5 separate regions of the Homo sapiens genome follow, and regions 1, 2, 4 and 5 are each linked to region 3. The links are contacts of gene promoters, found by promoter capture Hi-C in blood cells and fetal thymus (Javierre and others, 2016). All regions are on one chromosome and are shown on one strand. Each heading gives the region's core, a stretch centred on a gene start or on the middle of the fragment in contact. The rest is flanking DNA. Distances are from core to core; before and after follow the strand shown. Region 1 overlaps LOC124901993. Region 2 has its middle 63 kb from the start of LINC02845. Region 3 holds the start of KLF10 (KLF transcription factor 10). Region 4 holds the start of ZNF706 (zinc finger protein 706). Region 5 holds the start of YWHAZ (tyrosine 3-monooxygenase/tryptophan 5-monooxygenase activation protein zeta).

Region 1 (2,974 bases), core at 176-2,675, 1.3 Mb after region 3:
GACCAAGATGAAGAAGATGAAGCCTCCTATTTCCATCTGTTGATCCCATTCCATGATGGTCAGCCATATTGGAACATTCACATTTCCCAGCGTCTGGATTCTGGCTCCTGCGGAGTTGAATAGTAAACAGCACTGAGCACTCTGGTGGTGACCGTAACCAGAGTCATCTGAAAAAAATCATAAAGTAAAACCACAAAGCTCTGATTTGAAAAACATCATCTAAGACAAGAAATCTATTCGATGTCTGAACATACTCATCATCTCTGCAGGCCTGGCCAGCCGACTTTCAATCAAACTACAATGTCTAACAAAATGTTTCTCTGTTTTTAAGAAAAACAACAACAATAAAAAAATCTCTTCAGAGACAGAACTATCCAGGAGATCGAAGTTGTGAGAACAAACATTATTTTCACATATTTCTTTTAAAAGGAGACATACTTCTCAGGATAGTTCCCTAAATAAATAATTATCCAAAGGGCACCTTCTTCACCCTAGCCTTCTTTTTTTTTTTTTTTTTTTGAGACAGAGTCTCACTCTGTTGCCCAGGCTGGGGTGCAATGGCACGATCTTGGCTCACTGCAACCTCCACCTCCTGGGTTCAAGCAATTCTCCTGCCTCAGCCTTCTGAGTAGCTGGGATTACAGGTGCCCATCACCACACCCGGCTAATTTTTTTTGTACTTTTAGGTGAGACAGGGTTTCACCATGTTGGCCAGGCTGGTTTTGAACTCCTGACCTGGTGATCTGCCAGCCTTGGCCTCCCCAAAGTGCTAGGATTACAAGCGTGAGCTACTGTGCCGAGCCCACCCTAGCCTTCTGAATCTGAGACTCAGAGGGGTCCCAAGGAAAATCAGGTAGCTGCTACTTCAAGAAAGGGATGCTGGACTGGCAGGAGTGACAGATGTCCAGACACAGGATTTATGAGTGTCAGCTGATCATGACCAAGCATAGACCTCCCGTGGAGACAAACTGAAAGGCCATGTGGATCTAGAAGAGCAAGCAGCCCGCAAACATCTCAAACAGTGACACCATTTACAAAGGGCTGCCTTCTTGGCTTTCATACCTAGTCAGAAAGACAAAGAACTGCAATACTGCTGGCAGTTACTATTTAAGGATTTACTTGTCAAGTTGCTAAGGAAGTTGCAGAAACAGATGGACAATACCACTTAGGAGATGAAATCTTCAGAGTTCCTGAGGGTTATGGAGCCCCATTTCCATCCCTCCCTCATGCCATCTGGGCTTTGATGTGGGCTGTGACAAAAATACCACCACTTGACTGCAGAACTGCAGGATGTAAAATATGGCAATTTCACGGAGCTACATTGATAACATTCCTCAGTTGGTGTCTTAGCTGCCATATCTGTCTGACAACCTTGCCTTTCAATTCTTTCTGTGATACCTGGAAAACAAATATTTATGAAACGGAGAGAAGAAAGTATGAATTAGGAATATGCAATTGACATCAATATACACCAAACTCCAAGCTAGACACTGCCACATGTAATTTAATTTGATCTTCATAGTAATCCTGAAATGCTGATCAGAGAGGTAACTTTAAAAAAACTTAGTCTGTAGTTTGGGAGATAAAGCATACACAGAGAAAGGTTAAATGATGAAAACAACAGGTTGCAATAATAGAAAGGATTCATTCATTCGTTCATTCATTCATTCATTAATCAATAAACAATTACTGAGCACCTGACAGGCACTGTCCTAGGTACTGGACAAACCATGGTAAGGAGCTCACATTCTACTGAGGGAGACAGTCCGTGAACAACATCAACACGGAAAGAAGGTGGTGACAAGCGGGATGGTGGAAAGTGCTCTGGAGAACCAAAGGCTGCCAAGTGTGATGCCCAGTGAACTGCCATGAAGGGAGAGAGGAAGAGATGGGCTGAGCCTGGGCTGCCAAGGAGGACGCCTAAAGGAAGAGAACTCAACCTTGAACTTGAAGGATGAGTAAAATGTAAATGAGAAGAGTGCATTTATCTGTTCACCACTTAGGCAATATTTAGTGAGCACTACTGTCCATTAGAAATTCCAGTAACAATTAGGCTTTGTCCAGTAAACGATTATTACTGGAATGCCTGACAGAGAGATAGTTGCTCAATAAGTTAACTTAGCTTATTTCATGTGTGTGTGTATATATATATATGTGAAGTATATAGGCCAGGCTTGGTGGCTCATGCTTGTAATCCCAGCACTTTGGGAAGTCGAGGTGGGTGGATCACCTGAGGTCAGGGGTTCGAGACCAGCCTGGACAACATGGTGAAACCCCATCTCTACTAAAAATACAAAAATTAGCAGGGCATGGTGGCATACGCCTGTAGTCCCAGCTACTCGGGAGGCTGAGGCAAGAGAATTGCTTGAACCCAGGAGGCGGAGGTTGCAGTGAGCCGAGATCATGCCACTGCACTGGACGACAGAGTGAGACTGTGTCTCAAAAAAAAAAAAAAAAAAGAAAAGAAAAATATGTATCTCATATATATACATATAAAATATTTATAATCACATACACGTGTACACACACACACACATTCAGAGCTTATTATTATCTATCTACCAGGTGAAGTCCCAAGTGCTTTATATACTTTACTTCATTTCACCCCCAATGTACAAATGAAGAAACTGAATTATGGAGAGATTGAGTAACTCTAAGTCACAAAGCAACAGAGCTGGGATTTAAACCCAGGTAGTTCGGTTCCAGAGCGGCACTTTTAAGCAGCAGTCTGCAAAGTATGGCCCATGGACCAACTCCATTGCACTACCTGTTTTTATAAACACAACTTTACTGGAATATAGCTATACCTGTTCATATTATCTATGGCTGTCTTTGTGCTATAAGGACAGAGAGACCATATGGCCCACAAAGCCTAAAATATTTACTATCTGGCTCTTTATAGGCAAAGCTGGCCTTTAACTATCACACCACACTGCTTCCATGGATGGGGTGGAGACGGTGATAAAGTCCAGAC
Region 2 (2,990 bases), core at 138-2,637, 1.3 Mb after region 3:
AAAATGGGGGAGGAAGGGGTACAGAATATTTCTTTTCTCCTTCCTTTCTTTCCCTTTCTTTCTTTTTCTTTCTTTCTTTCTTTTCTTTTTCTTTCTTCTTTTCTTTCCTTTCTTTCTCTTTCTTTCCCTCCCTTCCTTTCTTTCCTTCCTTCCTTCCTTCCTTCCTTCCTTCCTTCCTTCCAGGGTCTCACTCTCTCACCCAGGCTAGAGCACAATGCATGTTCACGACTCACTGCAACCTTGACCTTCCATGCTCAGGCAATCCTCAAGCCTGAAATTATTTCTTTCCTTTCTTTCTTTCTTTCTTTTGTTTTGTTTTGGTGGAGGACAGAGTTTCGCTCTTGTTGCCCAGGCTGCAGTGCAATGGCGCGATCTGGGTTCACTGCAACCTCCACCTCTTGGGTTCAAGCGACTCTCCTGCCTCAGCCTTCCGGGTAGCTGGGATTACAGGCATCCACCACCAAGCCTGGCTAATTTTTGTATTTTTAGTAGAAACAGGGTTTCCCCATGTTGGCCAGGCTGGTCTCACCCTCCTGACCTCAGGTGATCCACCCACCTTGGCCTCCCAAAGTGTTGGGATTACAGGCATGAGCCACTGTGCCCAGTCAAAAATATTTCTTATGTAACGGCCTCCATGTCTGACAGGGTAGAATACAGAGGGATGAATCTGGCCTTTCTCTCTCACAGCCTCAGCTTCTTCATCCCTTAAATGGAAAGAATGCCTAACTCATAGGGTGGGGCCTGAGAGTGTCTCTTTGGAGCTCAGAAAGGGACAGAGGATATGAGAGAAGCAGCATTTATTGAACACCTACTGTGCATCCAATTTTTTGCTCCTTGGATCCTTACAACAGCCTCAGGGACTAAAAACAATCACACTCATCATCCCCCTGAGGAACCAGGCTCAGAAAGAAGGTGTGTCTACGTGCATTCTGATCTTCCTGGGCCCCTTCCTCCATCAAAAATATTAACAATATTCTATTTTATGACTGCATTCGTATAAAGACAAATACATTGATATGTATTAAAACATTTTCTTCGACATAAAGTTATATATATATATATTTTGTAATTAAAAAAATAACATTTTTATGGGCTTCTAAGAGTATGGTGGGCCCTAGGCATGGTTCCTCCTGTGCCTGAGGGGTTAGTTGGTCCTGTGTGTCTGGTCCAAGGTCACAGAGCCCTAGTGGTAGTGCTGGGGTTTCAGTGCTCCCCATACCTGATGTGCTTTGGGGACCCCAGGCGAGGGGAGGGATGGAGCCAGGAGGGGGCAATGGGGAGAGGAGGAGTTTCCATAGCAACTTAGCTAAAAATGAAAATTCAAAATATGGGTATTTACTGGCTTCCTCTAGACGCTGTGTACTACTCGTGATAAAATAAAACCAGCATTCTTTTATACTTAGAAGGCAGGCAACCCTGCTCATAGGCAATACTGTAAAACAGATAAATAAGCAAGGGGTCCAGTAATCGCTTGACTCTCTAATAAGGCTTCCTTTAATCGTAGTTGGTCACTTTAATATTTACAAATTGCAGCTTAGGGTTGCACAAAAACATTTAAATTATGAGGAAAGTAATGAAAAAAGAAAAGTAGGTCATCTCTAACCTATTGAAACTTCATAGGAAAATAGGAGCTAAGTTCTAAAAGTTCAATCTAATGTAATCTTTTCAGAATACCTGTAGGGCAAAGGGTGCTGCTGTCCACCTGGAGAGGCACTGAGGGGCATGTGTATGTGAGTGTGTGTGTGTATACGCACATGTGTGAGGGGTATACCTTAGGTGTCAAGAACTTTCAAAAGGACTGAAACTGGTGGAGCTGGTTGAATCTCAGAGCCCCAGTGAGGCTGCAGTTGGATCCTCATGGTGTGAGGTTGACTTCCAAGGCAGAGCCCTCAGGCCTCAGACGGGTTCATAGAGAGCAGATTGAGGGGGCCAGGTACTCCTGGGGACTCACAGTCCACTGGTCTGGGAAAATTGGCATGGGGTGGGCAGCAGAGCACCCCCGTGGGCAGGCCTCGAGATGCTGAAGATCTCCTCAGTCAGTGCTCAGCATGCATGAAAATGACCTGAGTGGTCAGGGGAGTGGGAAGGAGGGAGGCAGGACAGGGCCAGGGTGAGTAGACCCCTGGAATAGCTCACTACATGAGCCTAGGGAAATTATTCAAAACCGGGGGCTTTAGAGCCATCCTCCACATTCAGTGGAATACGAAGTGAGTTGAATGGTGGCCCCTAAAAGATATGTCCATGGCCTGGAATCTGCACATGTGACCTTATTTGGAAAAAGGATCTTTGCGGATATTATTAAGGATCTTGAGATGAGATTATCCTGAATTACCTGGGTGGGCCCATAATCCTATCAAAACACAGAAGAGGAGAAGGCATAGACACAGAAGAGGAGGAGGCTGTGTGAAGACAGAGGCAGAGATTACAGTGATGTAGCCACGAGACAAGGAAGGCTGGAGGCCCCAGAAGCCAGAAAAGGCAAAGAAAAGTTCTGCCCTAGAGCCTTCAGGGGTAGCATGACCCTGCCGACATCTTGATTTCAGACTCCTGGCCTCTAGAACTGGGATAGAATAAATTTGTGGTTTTAAGCACCTTGTTTGTGGTACTTTGTTACAGCAGCGTTCTACTCTGCAGCCCAGCATGAGAACATTGAGCTGTCATCAAAGCCACAAGGTACTAAAACTGAAGATTTCACAGAAAGAAATCTGATCAGACCCAGGCTTTCAGGTGCCACCTGGGCTGGGAGGTCCGGTCCTGAGGTCAGTGCTGTCATGAGCCTGGGCTCGATCTTGTGACACTGGCTTTGCCGAGCCTCTGCTGGACACTGCCAGTGTGGGCCACTCTGTAATGTGGGGCCTCAGCAAGGTCCTTGCTGGTGGGATTGAACAGAAAGAAGCTCAGTGTCTCTCTCACACATAAGTTACGTGACTGCATCTCTATTAAATGCTTTTATTTTCTCCCAGGCTTCACTTTATGAATGGGATTTTAAT
Region 3 (3,377 bases), core at 665-3,164:
GGCCTGGAGGGTCTAGCAGAAGCCACCCCAGGGGAGGGCCCGACAGGAAGGAAGGTAGGCCTGCCGGAGGGGCATACAGGAGCTTCCTCTCCCGCCACAGTGTCCAGGGCCAACTGCTCCAGCCCTCAGGCTGGGTCAACAGGATGGGACAGCCCAGGCGGAAGGAAACCTGTGGGGAGGGACACCCCGCAGACAGAAGCAGGGACATGGGGTGGGGAGAGGCAGGAAGAGCTGCCGGGCTGCTGAGCTGGCGCCTCTCCAGCAGACTCAGGAGGGGCGGTGACAGGAGGCCATTCCCTCCTCATCCCCGCAGCCCTGGGCCTCTCTGGTCCTGGCCAACAGTATTACTATCATTATTATTGCTGTTGTTCGCTAGCCTGGGCCTTAGATACATTAGAAAAAAACCATCGGAAGATACGCATAGCATTGGCAGTTTCTAAAAGAATTAATTCCCTTCCTGTGTTCATTCTGTGATTACTGGGATAGAAATGCTATTTGCATTACCAGCCTTTCATTCAGTTACAGAGACGTGAGTGCTCGAAGGAGAGACAGTGATTTTTGCCTTAAATTCAGCCTGTCCAAATCGGATAAGATCTCCGATTTGCTTTAAGCCCCGTTATCACTGCCTTCCTCTCCAACAACAGCTGCTGTGATCACGCACAAACGGCCAAACGGGGGCAAATCCGTGCCAAAGCAGGGCCATGGGCTTTCCTGATCAGAAGGCCTAGCCCCAGCCCCCAGGCGCAGCACACGGGCGGCTTCCTTTCAGAAACCCAGCCTGCCTCCCACCAGCTGGAGTGGGTGGGTGGGGCGGTAGTGGTGCCAGTTTCAGGGAACGGCCGGCAAACCCACCTCCAGGCGTGCTCCAGCGGGAGCCTGGAGACCCTAGGAGAGCCCTCCCCACAAGCGGCTTCCAGGCAGGACGCTTCCAGAGGTCTTGGTCCAGGGGTGGGGGTGAGGTGGGGTCTACCTTTGAAACAGCTACAATTTAAACTTCAGCTACACCGAGCTCAAACTCGATTCCGCAGCCGAGTGTCGGCGCCAGAGAAGGATAAAAACTCGGGTCTACGGCTCCCCACCACGCCCCTGGTCCGGTCCTCTGGGCTTCCAGGAGTCCTCACGCCATCCTCTGGGTTGCCCAGGAGGAAGGATGGGCGGGGCGGGCAGGCGCTGCGGGCGCTGCAGATGGGGAGGGCGAGCCCGCGGCACGGCGTGAGCGGGGGAGAGGCGCGCGAGCAGGTGTCGGCTCCGTGACAGGGTCCCCCATCCCGCGCCCCAGTGCTCCCCGAGGCTTAGTGAGGCAAAACCCAGCAAATGCTTCAGAAATGCAGCTCAGTCGGTCACCGGGTTCTGCTTCCTCATCAGACGCGCAAGAGGATGGCGCTTCCAATGCAAATCTCTTGGCTCCGGCCCCTTGGCTGGCAGCCGCCGCGTCCCCCGCCTGCCTGGCGTCCCGCCCACTCCGTGGCGGGCTGAGACGAGGCCCGGCGCGGAGGGGACGGGGCGGAGCGGGCATCCCTCCCCACCCCCCACGTGGGGCTGGCCCTCCGCAGTGCCTGGGCGCGCTGCAGTCGCCGCGCCTCCCCGGCCGCGGCACCGCCTCTCTAGGCAGGGGCGGGGGACGAGGGGCAAGGAGTGGGCGAGGGGTGGGCGAGGGGCGGGGGGCGTCACTCAATCAGGTGGCCTCTGGAGTTCCCCGGGGCAGGGCAGAGGGAACACGCTGCCGGGGATTGTGTACACGCTCCACTGACACCAGCTTCACGCTGCCGGGCAGTCGCCGATCACGCGTGGCCCCGCGAGCCCATTGGCCGGCGCCTCACACACCTTTGCCGTTGATTGGCCGGCCTCAGGCTCCGCCCCCACCCCCGCCCGCGGCGCGGGGCAGGCTGAGCGGCTACCTGAATGGGGAGGGGGCAGACGGCGCTGAGCGCGGCGGCGGCGGGAGCGGCGTCGAGTGTCTCCGTGCGCCCGTCTGTGGCCAAGCAGCCAGCAGCCTAGCAGCCAGTCAGCTTGCCGCCGGCGGCCAAGCAGCCAACCATGCTCAACTTCGGTGCCTCTCTCCAGCAGACTGCGGTAAGTCATTTGGGGATGCCCCTGTGCTTCCTCGCCTGGTCTTGTCTGGGGGGCCAAAGGGGGCGCGAACCCCGAGCCCCGGACATCAGCCATGCCTGAGAATTGGGGCTGCAGCGGAGTCGTGGGGAAGGAAAGGGCTTCCTGCCTGCAGACTATGGGCATTAGTGAGGGCGTGTGTGTTCGGGAGGGGGTCGAACCAGGGGGCTGGGATCTTCAGACAGGGACAGGGGTCTTGCTCTAGATGTACTGAGGGGAAGGGACAACTCCGCATGGAGACCCGAGAGGGCTGGTGAGGAGGAGGATGACGAGCGGGGGAGGAGTGGGGAGGGGGCCGTTGCCCTGCAGCGAGGTTGGGGTACAGTGTGGAACGAGAGTCGCGGGAGGGACAAGGGGGCTACCCTCACCTGGTACCGAGGAGAGATGCCCGGTCTGGCTCAGGAACGCGAGCCAGGGGAGGAAGGGGCTGCTCGCAAGCACTCGGGAGGCGGGGTGTCCACAGGAGAGGCGAGTGGGCTACCCATCCTGGGGGTCTGAACCCACGCTTGGAAGACGGGGGCTGCTCAGCAGATAGCTCGGGGCTGGGGGAAGGGGCGCCTGTCGTCGGAGCGGGGGGATGACACGAGGGCCCGCCGACAGCCCTGGGGGACGAGTTGCTCCCCCAGACGTCTGGAGGGGGACTCTTACCCCAGGGGCAGGTGGCCGCCTTCTGACGACTCCTTGGAAGAGGCGGGGAGCCGCCTCTGGGGCAGGAGGGTGGGAAGCGGGACCCAGCAGCTGGGGCGGGAAGGTGGGCGGGGGGAGCTGGGCCGCGAGACGCGGGGGCCGCGCGTCTGGAGCCGGGGCCTGTGGGGGCTGCACGTCTGGGAACCCGTGGAGACGCGCGGCGGGAGGGGCCTGGAGCTGCCGGAAGCCACGGGGAGGGGGCGCCGCGTCTACAGGGAGAGACGGGGTGGTCTGAGGTCCCGTGGGCCGCGTGGGCGGGAAGTGCCGAGGGCTCGGCCGGGTTCCCGGGGGCTGCCGGCGGGAGGAGGGCGGCGGCCGGGTTTCCGCGGGGACCTGGCTCCTCCTCCCGCATCTGAGGCGGAGGCCGGGGGTGGGCCGGGAGCGGGTGCGCCCGGGGAGCTTCTCGTCCCCGAGTGACCCAGCCCCGGCCTCCGCCAGGGGCGGGAGCGAGGCCCGGCCCCGCTGTCGGTTCCTAAGGGAACGGCGGCTCGCGGGGAGCTGGAAGGGGCGGGCGCCTCCCGGAGCCTGGCGCCCGCAGCCCCGCCCCTCCCCGCGGGCCCGGCGCGCACGGCCGGGCGGTT
Region 4 (3,378 bases), core at 511-3,010, 1.5 Mb after region 3:
TAGAGCTTCATGCTATGTCAATTTAAAAGCTGCTTTCTTCAGACATACTCGGTTCATTTGATCAATATCCATTTATTCAACGTCTACTATGTTTAACATACTGCGTATTCCCTGATGAAAATAATCTTACAATCTAGGACTAGAGAGTAATTTAAAACTGCAAGAAGGAAGTCAGAGCATAAAAAGTGAAGGTGAGAGAAGCTGAAATGAGGATGAAGAGGGAGAACTGAACACCCGGATCACTGCATGCCATGTTTCATTTCGTATTTTTCTCCACTCAAATGCAATAGGCAGCTAACTCCTTCCTGGCTAGTTTAAACAATTCTGTGGTATCTATAGCCCAGTCCAAGTCATTTGGGATATACTAATATTCAGCCAACATTTCCTGGGCACTGCCACGCAAACTTGGGAAACGGCACTACAGGCAAGGTGAGAACAGCCAATGCAAACACTTTTTTTTTTTCTCCTTTGTCACTAGTAGTTCTAATTAGAAACGAATGTGGCGGGGGTCGGGGGTAAGTATGCACAATAAAGCTGATGTCTAAAGTACTGTTTCCAGATATTCAGCAATTTTAATCATGGTTATAATCGCCATTGCTCTTGTCAGATATTGAAAGTTTGCTGCCACTGCCTGTAAATGGAGAGAGAGCGCGCGCAAAGAACTTTAACCATTCCCCGAAGGATTAGCAACTCAGTACCGTATATTGTTAGCAGTCAAACTAAACCCCTCCGGGAAGCCTGGCCAGCAATTTTTTTTTCTTTTTTTGTTTTTTTTTTTTTTTAGGCAGGGTCTCACTCAGTCGCCCAGGATGGAGTGCAATGGCGCGATCTCGGCTTACCGCAACCTTCACCTCCCGGCCTCAAGCGATTCTCCCACCTCAGCCTCCCGAGTAGCTGGGACTACAGGCGCGGGCCACCATGCTCCACTATTTATTTTATTTTATTTTATTTTTGTGGAGACGTGGGTCTCGCTATGTACTCAGGCTGGTCTGGAACTCCTGGGCTCAAGTGATCCTCCTGCCTTGGGCTCCCAAAGCGCTGAGATTACAGGCGTGAGCCACCGCGCCCGGCCTAGCCAGCAATTTTTAATACGACTTAGGCTTGAATCTTGAACTCACTAAAAGCCCCCAGCTTGGGAAAACACCTGGGGTTTCCATGGGAGTGAGGTAAAGGGCGGCTGTGAAAGAACAAAGGCTGTGCGTCCGCGTTCAGAGCCGCTGGGTCCGCCGGGCTCGCTGGGGGCCGGGGCCGCGGTGTCCTGGGTGGCGGGGCTCCGGGAATGTGACTCAGCCACCGCGGCCCCGCGATCCGCTCCCGGGCCAGCGCCTCAGTCGGTGCCGAGGAGGGCGGCGCCGAGACGGGCGCGTCAGCCTGGGAGGAGCGGGAAAAGGGTCGCAGCGCCTGAGGCCCGGCCGCCGCCCGAGTGGATGAGCGAGCGAGCGACTTGTGAAACACGCCGCGGCCCGGTCACCAACCAGGACCGGGATCACGTGGCTCCCAGGGCTGGGTGAAGAAGCCGCCCGGACCGAGCGCGCCGGAGAGGAGGGGCGCCTGGGGACAGAAGGCGACGTCCCCTGAAGTTTGTGTCAGCCAGGGCCCGCCCCCTCGCGCTTATGTAATAGGGGCGCGCTGCCATTGGCCCGCGCGACCAGCCAGGGCGCAGGCGTGCGAGCGGGGTGGGGGCCAGAAGGAGGCAGCCGCAGAAAGGCACATGGGCGGGGCTGCGAGGAGCAGGCGGGGCGGGGGCGCCGAGGAGAGCGGCGCGGCGTGCGCGGGCACGAGGCGTAGTGGTCTCCCCTAAGGCTGAGGCGGCGGCGGGCGCGCGGCGGCGGCGGGCGTGCGAGGCTGTTGTGCTCCCGGCTCTCGTGTTTCCCCTCCTGAGCGGGTGGAGGAGGCCCAAGCGGTGCTGGGCGCGCTCCCCCTTCCTTTCCCTCCGGCGTCCTCTCCCGGCCCTCTCGCGCTGCACTGTCTCTCCGACGCAAGACTGTCCCGGCCCGGGTGAGCGGCAGCGGGGGCGGTGCTGACGCCGCGGGACGCCCGGGAAACGGGGCGGGGGCCGGCCAGCGGGGGGCGGTGGGGACCGTGGGACTCGCCGCGGGTCGCGAGGGGTCGCGGGGGGCGGCAGGGCCCGGCCCGGGGCGGGCCGCGGGAAGGGGATGAGTTCGGGCGCCTGCCAGGCCCTGCAGGTGGCCGGGTCGCAGGCCAGCCGCGGAAGCGGAGCGGTAACCTTACCCCCGGCGACAGCCGCCGGTCAGCTGCCAGAGTGTGGCGCTCCCGGTGGACGCAGGGGCCGGGTTTCGGGCAGTCTCGGCCTCCAGGAGGCGCGTCTTGGTCCAGGGTCCGTGAGGACTGGCTAGATGGGGGCTGCGTGGCCTTTGGTGGCAGGGAGGAGGAGGGGGTCTCCGAGGCGGGAGAGGCGGGTTTGGGAAGGAAGGTGCGCCAGGCTGAAGCTGGGGTCGGAGAAGTGTTGGGTGGAGACCTCACTGTGGGTGCGTTCCTCCTCTCCTCTCCCCAAAACGATGGTGTTAAAAGCTAGGGTCAGGATGTGGAGCGCTGCCTGGGCCTCTTCCTTTCCGATGGTTATGGAGAATGAGCCTACTTCCTGGACCCAAAATCCTTTTCTTCTGTTACTCATTTATGTTGGTTTTAAAAGGAGCTTTGGGGCAGAGCTTACTTGTTGCCTCCTACGAGAGCGCCTCATTTTAGAACTCGTTTCTTCCACTACTTCCCTCTTTGCAGCCCCCTCGGAAAACCACACTGAGAGTTGCATTAAAAACCAGCATGTAGGTATTTGTAAGTGACTTTTTCCCTCCAGTTTGTCGCATTTAATCAAGGAGCGGTTGTAGCTGCCTACGATTTTGTAGAAAATTGTGTTGGCTTGAGAGCAAGTCCTAAGTTGAGCTGTCCAAAAGCAGGTGGTTGGTTCGTTTGAATTTCTGCTTTCAGAAAGGAAATCGATGGGGCGTGTTGTCAGAAGTTAGGGGCCTACCTCATGCATTTAGCTTATTTTATTCCATTTCCTTTACCTGGTGTTAAGTTTTCTGTCTTCAGAATAAGAACAAGTGACTACTGTCTTTATTAAGTCTCTTCGGTCTTTTTGGTTGCTGTTTGGTGACAATGGAAAATGGGTTGAATCTATTGTGTAATGTTATATTTTAGGGAAAGTCCTAAGTGCAAAAGTTAAAAATAATTTTGTGTGTCTAATGACATTGCTTTGTACGAGTCACAACATGGAAATATCAAAATAGCTAGTAACTTCTAGAAAGCAAAGGAACTTCTGAAATTAGTGGCTTACCATTTTTGAAGATTTTTTTTAACATAAAACAAGATTTCCCACAAAATCAGTGTATTAAGATACATAAAATACATTGTGTCGAA
Region 5 (3,108 bases), core at 452-2,951, 1.7 Mb after region 3:
GCAGCCTCCTGCCCTAGGTGCACTCGGGACAAGCGTAGAGGAGCTGGAAGCCGAGCGGGGTGGGAGGAGTGGCGGCTGCGGGCGAGGACGCGCGCGCCTCCGCTCGCCCTCCAGCGCGGGCGGGCAGGACGAGCGCCGGGGAGCGGCGGTTACGCGGGGCCCCGATCGCTGTGGGCACCAATCAACGGTTGCCATAGCAGCGTTTGACGTCATCGTGCGTGTGGTGCCCCTGCTGCCGGGGCTGGTGATTGGAGGAAACCCCGTGTCTGCGGAGCGGCTGTAGCCTGTGAGCAGCGAGATCCAGGGACAGAGTCTCAGCCTCGCCGCTGCTGCCGCCGCCGCCGCCCAGAGACTGCTGAGCCCGTCCGTCCGCCGCCACCACCCACTCCGGACACAGGTGAGGAACCCGGCCGCCGCCGCGCCTCGCTTCCTGTCCCAGGCCAGCCTTCCGAACGCGTGGGAGCCGTCCTCGCTCCGTCCCCTCATCCCCACTCGCCCCGCGGTGGCGGCGCCGGGCTGAGGCGGAGTCTCCTCAGCGGACACGGGCGGCGGCTCCTCTTCCGCTGGGCTCGGGAGGGCGGCTAGCGGCCGCCTCCGGCTCCTTGCTTCCGCATCGACGCCCCGGCGCCGATCGGTGCTCGCTCCCCCGTCCTGCCCCCGGGGGTGGGTAGGGCGCCCACACGCGAGATCCCTGGGGATCTCCCTGTCGCCGGCTCCCGAAGGTGGACGAGGCATGGCCGGGGCGCCGCCGGCCGCGATCCATCCCCACCCTTGTCTCTGCGGGCTTCCACCCCCTCCCTCGCCGCCCTTCTCGCTTCCGCCCGAGATAATGACTCGGCGGCGGCGGCGGCGGGCATCGCAGTGGCGCAGGTGAGGCCGCCCCCTCCCCTCTCCCTCGGCCGCCCCCTCCTTTCCCTCCCCCTCGCGCAGCCTCCGCGCTGGGCGCTGCGGCGGCGGGACCCGGCCCTCCCCCACCCCGGGAGGCGGTGGCGCGGCGGGGAGGGGCCGGGGGCCTCGGGGACCCAAGCGCGAGGGAAAGGCCTGGCCGAGAGCGGGCCGGAGCCCAGGCCTGGCGCGGCGGCGCCCGCCAGGTAGACCGGGGCGAGGCTGCGCGCCGGCGGGAGGGGAGTCCACTGCGGGGTGAGGTTTTGGGGTGGGGCTCGCCTGGGACCTAGAGCTGAATTTCCTGGGCTCCGCGGTGGGAGGAAGGACTTGAATTTTCCTGGTGGGGGTGGGGGATGGGTCTGACTTTTTTTGCTCCTTGTGAACGGGCGGGGGAGGTGTGGACGGGGGCTGCAAGTCCAGGTCGGGGTAGAGAACAGGGTGGTGAGCCCGCAGTCGGCTCCCGTGCTTGATGGACTAGAACTGGAGGGTCCCTGCGCTCGGTTTGGGGACGCATATCCTGCTTTGGGGGCGGGTGAGCCTGAGCATAGCCGCTGGTGGCCCGCTCGGCTGGGTGTGGCTCTCGTCCCCTCCCCCACCTGCAGCTGTCGGTCCCTTAGAGACGCTGTACACGGTCACCGGCGCTGATCGGTGGCGGGGAAGGCGCTGGGTGGGAGAGCGGGGTGTGTCCGCGGCGGGGCTGGTAGTGGTTCCGCTTCTGCGGGCTGCTGTGGCGTCTCTGCCCCGGGGTCGGGCGGCTTCGCTCCCCATCTCTCCCCCCCCCCCACGGCTTGGGCGGGGGCGCGGGCTGCTCCTCCCTCTGGCTCCGGTCGGGGGGAGGAATTAACACTCTGCAGTAGGTTGGGCTCCCTGACACAGATCCGCCATGACAAAGGAGGAGAGTCGGGGACTTGAGCCGTGGCTCCGACTTGGGCGGAGCCTGGAGGGGGGTGGTTGCGATACGCGGACCGGAGAATTTGCACTTTAAAGTCCGGGTCTGCCCGTTTTCGTTTCACAGTAACCGACGTCTCAAGTCAGGTAAGGGTTAAATGGGTGCGGTGAGTCCTGCCCGCAGTGTAGAGGCGAGGCCTTGGAGCACTCGTTACTGTGTGAGAAACCTTATCCACTTCCTCTTGTACCGAAGTGATTGGGGAGAGAATCCTTTGTACTGGCTTAAATCATTTTTTGTTAGAAGCAGAAATAACCAGAGAGCGTTTCTGAGATCCTAAGGGAAAAATCAGTAATTTAGAGACCTGACGAAAATAATGCCGTCATAAAGGTTAAATAGTTTACGTATTGAGCCAGTACCTTGCATCCAAAGTGGTTAATTATTTGTTTAAAATGTGGCGACCTGTTCTCTCATTTGGTTAAAAAAATATTGTGGGATTTCCCTGGGAAGGTAAAAGATGATTAATATTCGGGAGCCAGCTGCCAAGGTGGACTCTTCTGTTCACCTTCTAACTTAAAAGTGCACTTCATTCAGGGTGTGTATTTTCCTCTGAAGTCATTTATTCTGTGGTGTCACTGTGTGGATTAGTATCTTTGTGCTGTTCGGCAACTTGCAAAAGGGTATCTTTCCAGAAAAATGTAGCTGAGGTAAATCGAAAAGGTCCAGGAAACTAAAATGCGAGGGAAAGAGAATTAGATGGGTAGTCATGGTAAAGGACAGCTTGAGTGGTAACATCCAATTACATTATGATGGCTAGAAGCAAAATGCAGCACTTCTGCATTTCAACTGGAGCGATGACATTGGAAACACTTATAAATTAAGTACTTCCAATGTGATATATTCTAGTACTCACAGTAAGAGTTGAAGTGTCATGACTTGCGGATATTTTTAAAGCATGTGGACATATAACAAGATAAAGAGTTGAGACATTAGGGTCAGATATTGATCCTTTGTGGTGGATTTATACTCAAAATATCTGAAAACAAACAGTTGGTCATTCCCCCCCAAATTGTTATGCTATTATTGGCTGGCAGTTGTTGCAGAGATCTAGTAGGTTTGGGGTAGGGGTAACACTAAAGCTAAAATGTAATCACTCTTGACAAGAGTATTATGAAAGTAAAAAGACGTGAGTTACATTAAACTGATATGAATTATGATTCTGGAAATATGATAGAAATCCAGATGTTCTCTGTAAACAATGCTTTTACTAAAGGAAGAAAAGCTGCTTAATTTTGGATCACTTAGTGGTATTGGAAATGAGTTGAGATTTTGATCAG

What was found. The method cuts DNA at HindIII sites, captures the fragments that hold promoters and counts their contacts. A CHiCAGO score of 5 or more calls a contact.
Region 1: a contact is called between a fragment that was not itself captured here and the fragment with the promoter of KLF10 in region 3, in 1 of 17 cell types (total B cells). The highest score is 5.2, in total B cells.
Region 2: a fragment that was not itself captured here is called in contact with the fragment with the promoter of KLF10 in region 3 in 10 of 17 cell types (total B cells, naive CD4 T cells, naive B cells and 7 more); the score reaches 22.3 in total B cells.
Region 4: the fragment with the promoter of ZNF706 here is called in contact with the fragment with the promoter of KLF10 in region 3 in 10 of 17 cell types (fetal thymus, naive CD4 T cells, total CD8 T cells and 7 more); the score reaches 13.9 in fetal thymus.
Region 5: a fragment that was not itself captured here is called in contact with the fragment with the promoter of KLF10 in region 3 in 1 of 17 cell types (naive CD4 T cells); the score reaches 5.3 in naive CD4 T cells.

The regions. Positions count from the first base shown.
Region 1 is chr8:101,312,500-101,315,473 of GRCh38, reverse strand. It overlaps LOC124901993, which reads right to left. Exons shown (of 6, transcript XM_047422526.1): 2 at 1,163-1,398; 3 at 1-107. The coding sequence starts at 67. Among named protein-coding and RNA genes, the nearest start is that of LINC02844, 51 kb to the right of the region's middle. The HindIII fragment of the contact is 6,164 bases long and covers 1-2,974 here.
Region 2 is chr8:101,328,863-101,331,852 of GRCh38, reverse strand. No RefSeq gene overlaps it. Among named protein-coding and RNA genes, the nearest start is that of LINC02845, 63 kb to the left of the region's middle. The HindIII fragment of the contact is 5,713 bases long and covers 1-2,990 here.
Region 3 is chr8:102,654,262-102,657,638 of GRCh38, reverse strand. KLF10 (KLF transcription factor 10) reads left to right here and starts at 1,914. Exons shown (of 4, transcript NM_005655.4): 1 at 1,914-2,073. The coding sequence starts at 2,038. It overlaps LOC101927245 (a long non-coding RNA gene), which reads right to left and starts at 1,391. Exons shown (of 5, transcript NR_160672.1): 1 at 853-1,391. RefSeq lists enhancers at 1-82, 83-683, 1,284-1,884, 3,178-3,377, silencers at 1,025-2,044, 2,945-3,377 and a promoter at 1,324-2,058. The HindIII fragment of the contact is 6,240 bases long and covers 1-3,377 here.
Region 4 is chr8:101,204,055-101,207,432 of GRCh38, reverse strand. It overlaps ZNF706 (zinc finger protein 706), which reads left to right and starts at 1,760. Exons shown (of 4, transcript NM_016096.5): 1 at 1,760-1,998. RefSeq lists silencers at 1,196-1,415, 1,626-2,225. The HindIII fragment of the contact is 4,829 bases long and covers 1-3,378 here.
Region 5 is chr8:100,949,218-100,952,325 of GRCh38, reverse strand. It overlaps YWHAZ (tyrosine 3-monooxygenase/tryptophan 5-monooxygenase activation protein zeta), which reads left to right and starts at 306. Exons shown (of 6, transcript NM_145690.3): 1 at 306-397. RefSeq lists silencers at 1-171, 402-1,171, 1,562-1,781 and enhancers at 1-209, 1,362-1,441, 1,068-1,927, 2,042-2,101. The HindIII fragment of the contact is 5,201 bases long and covers 1-3,108 here.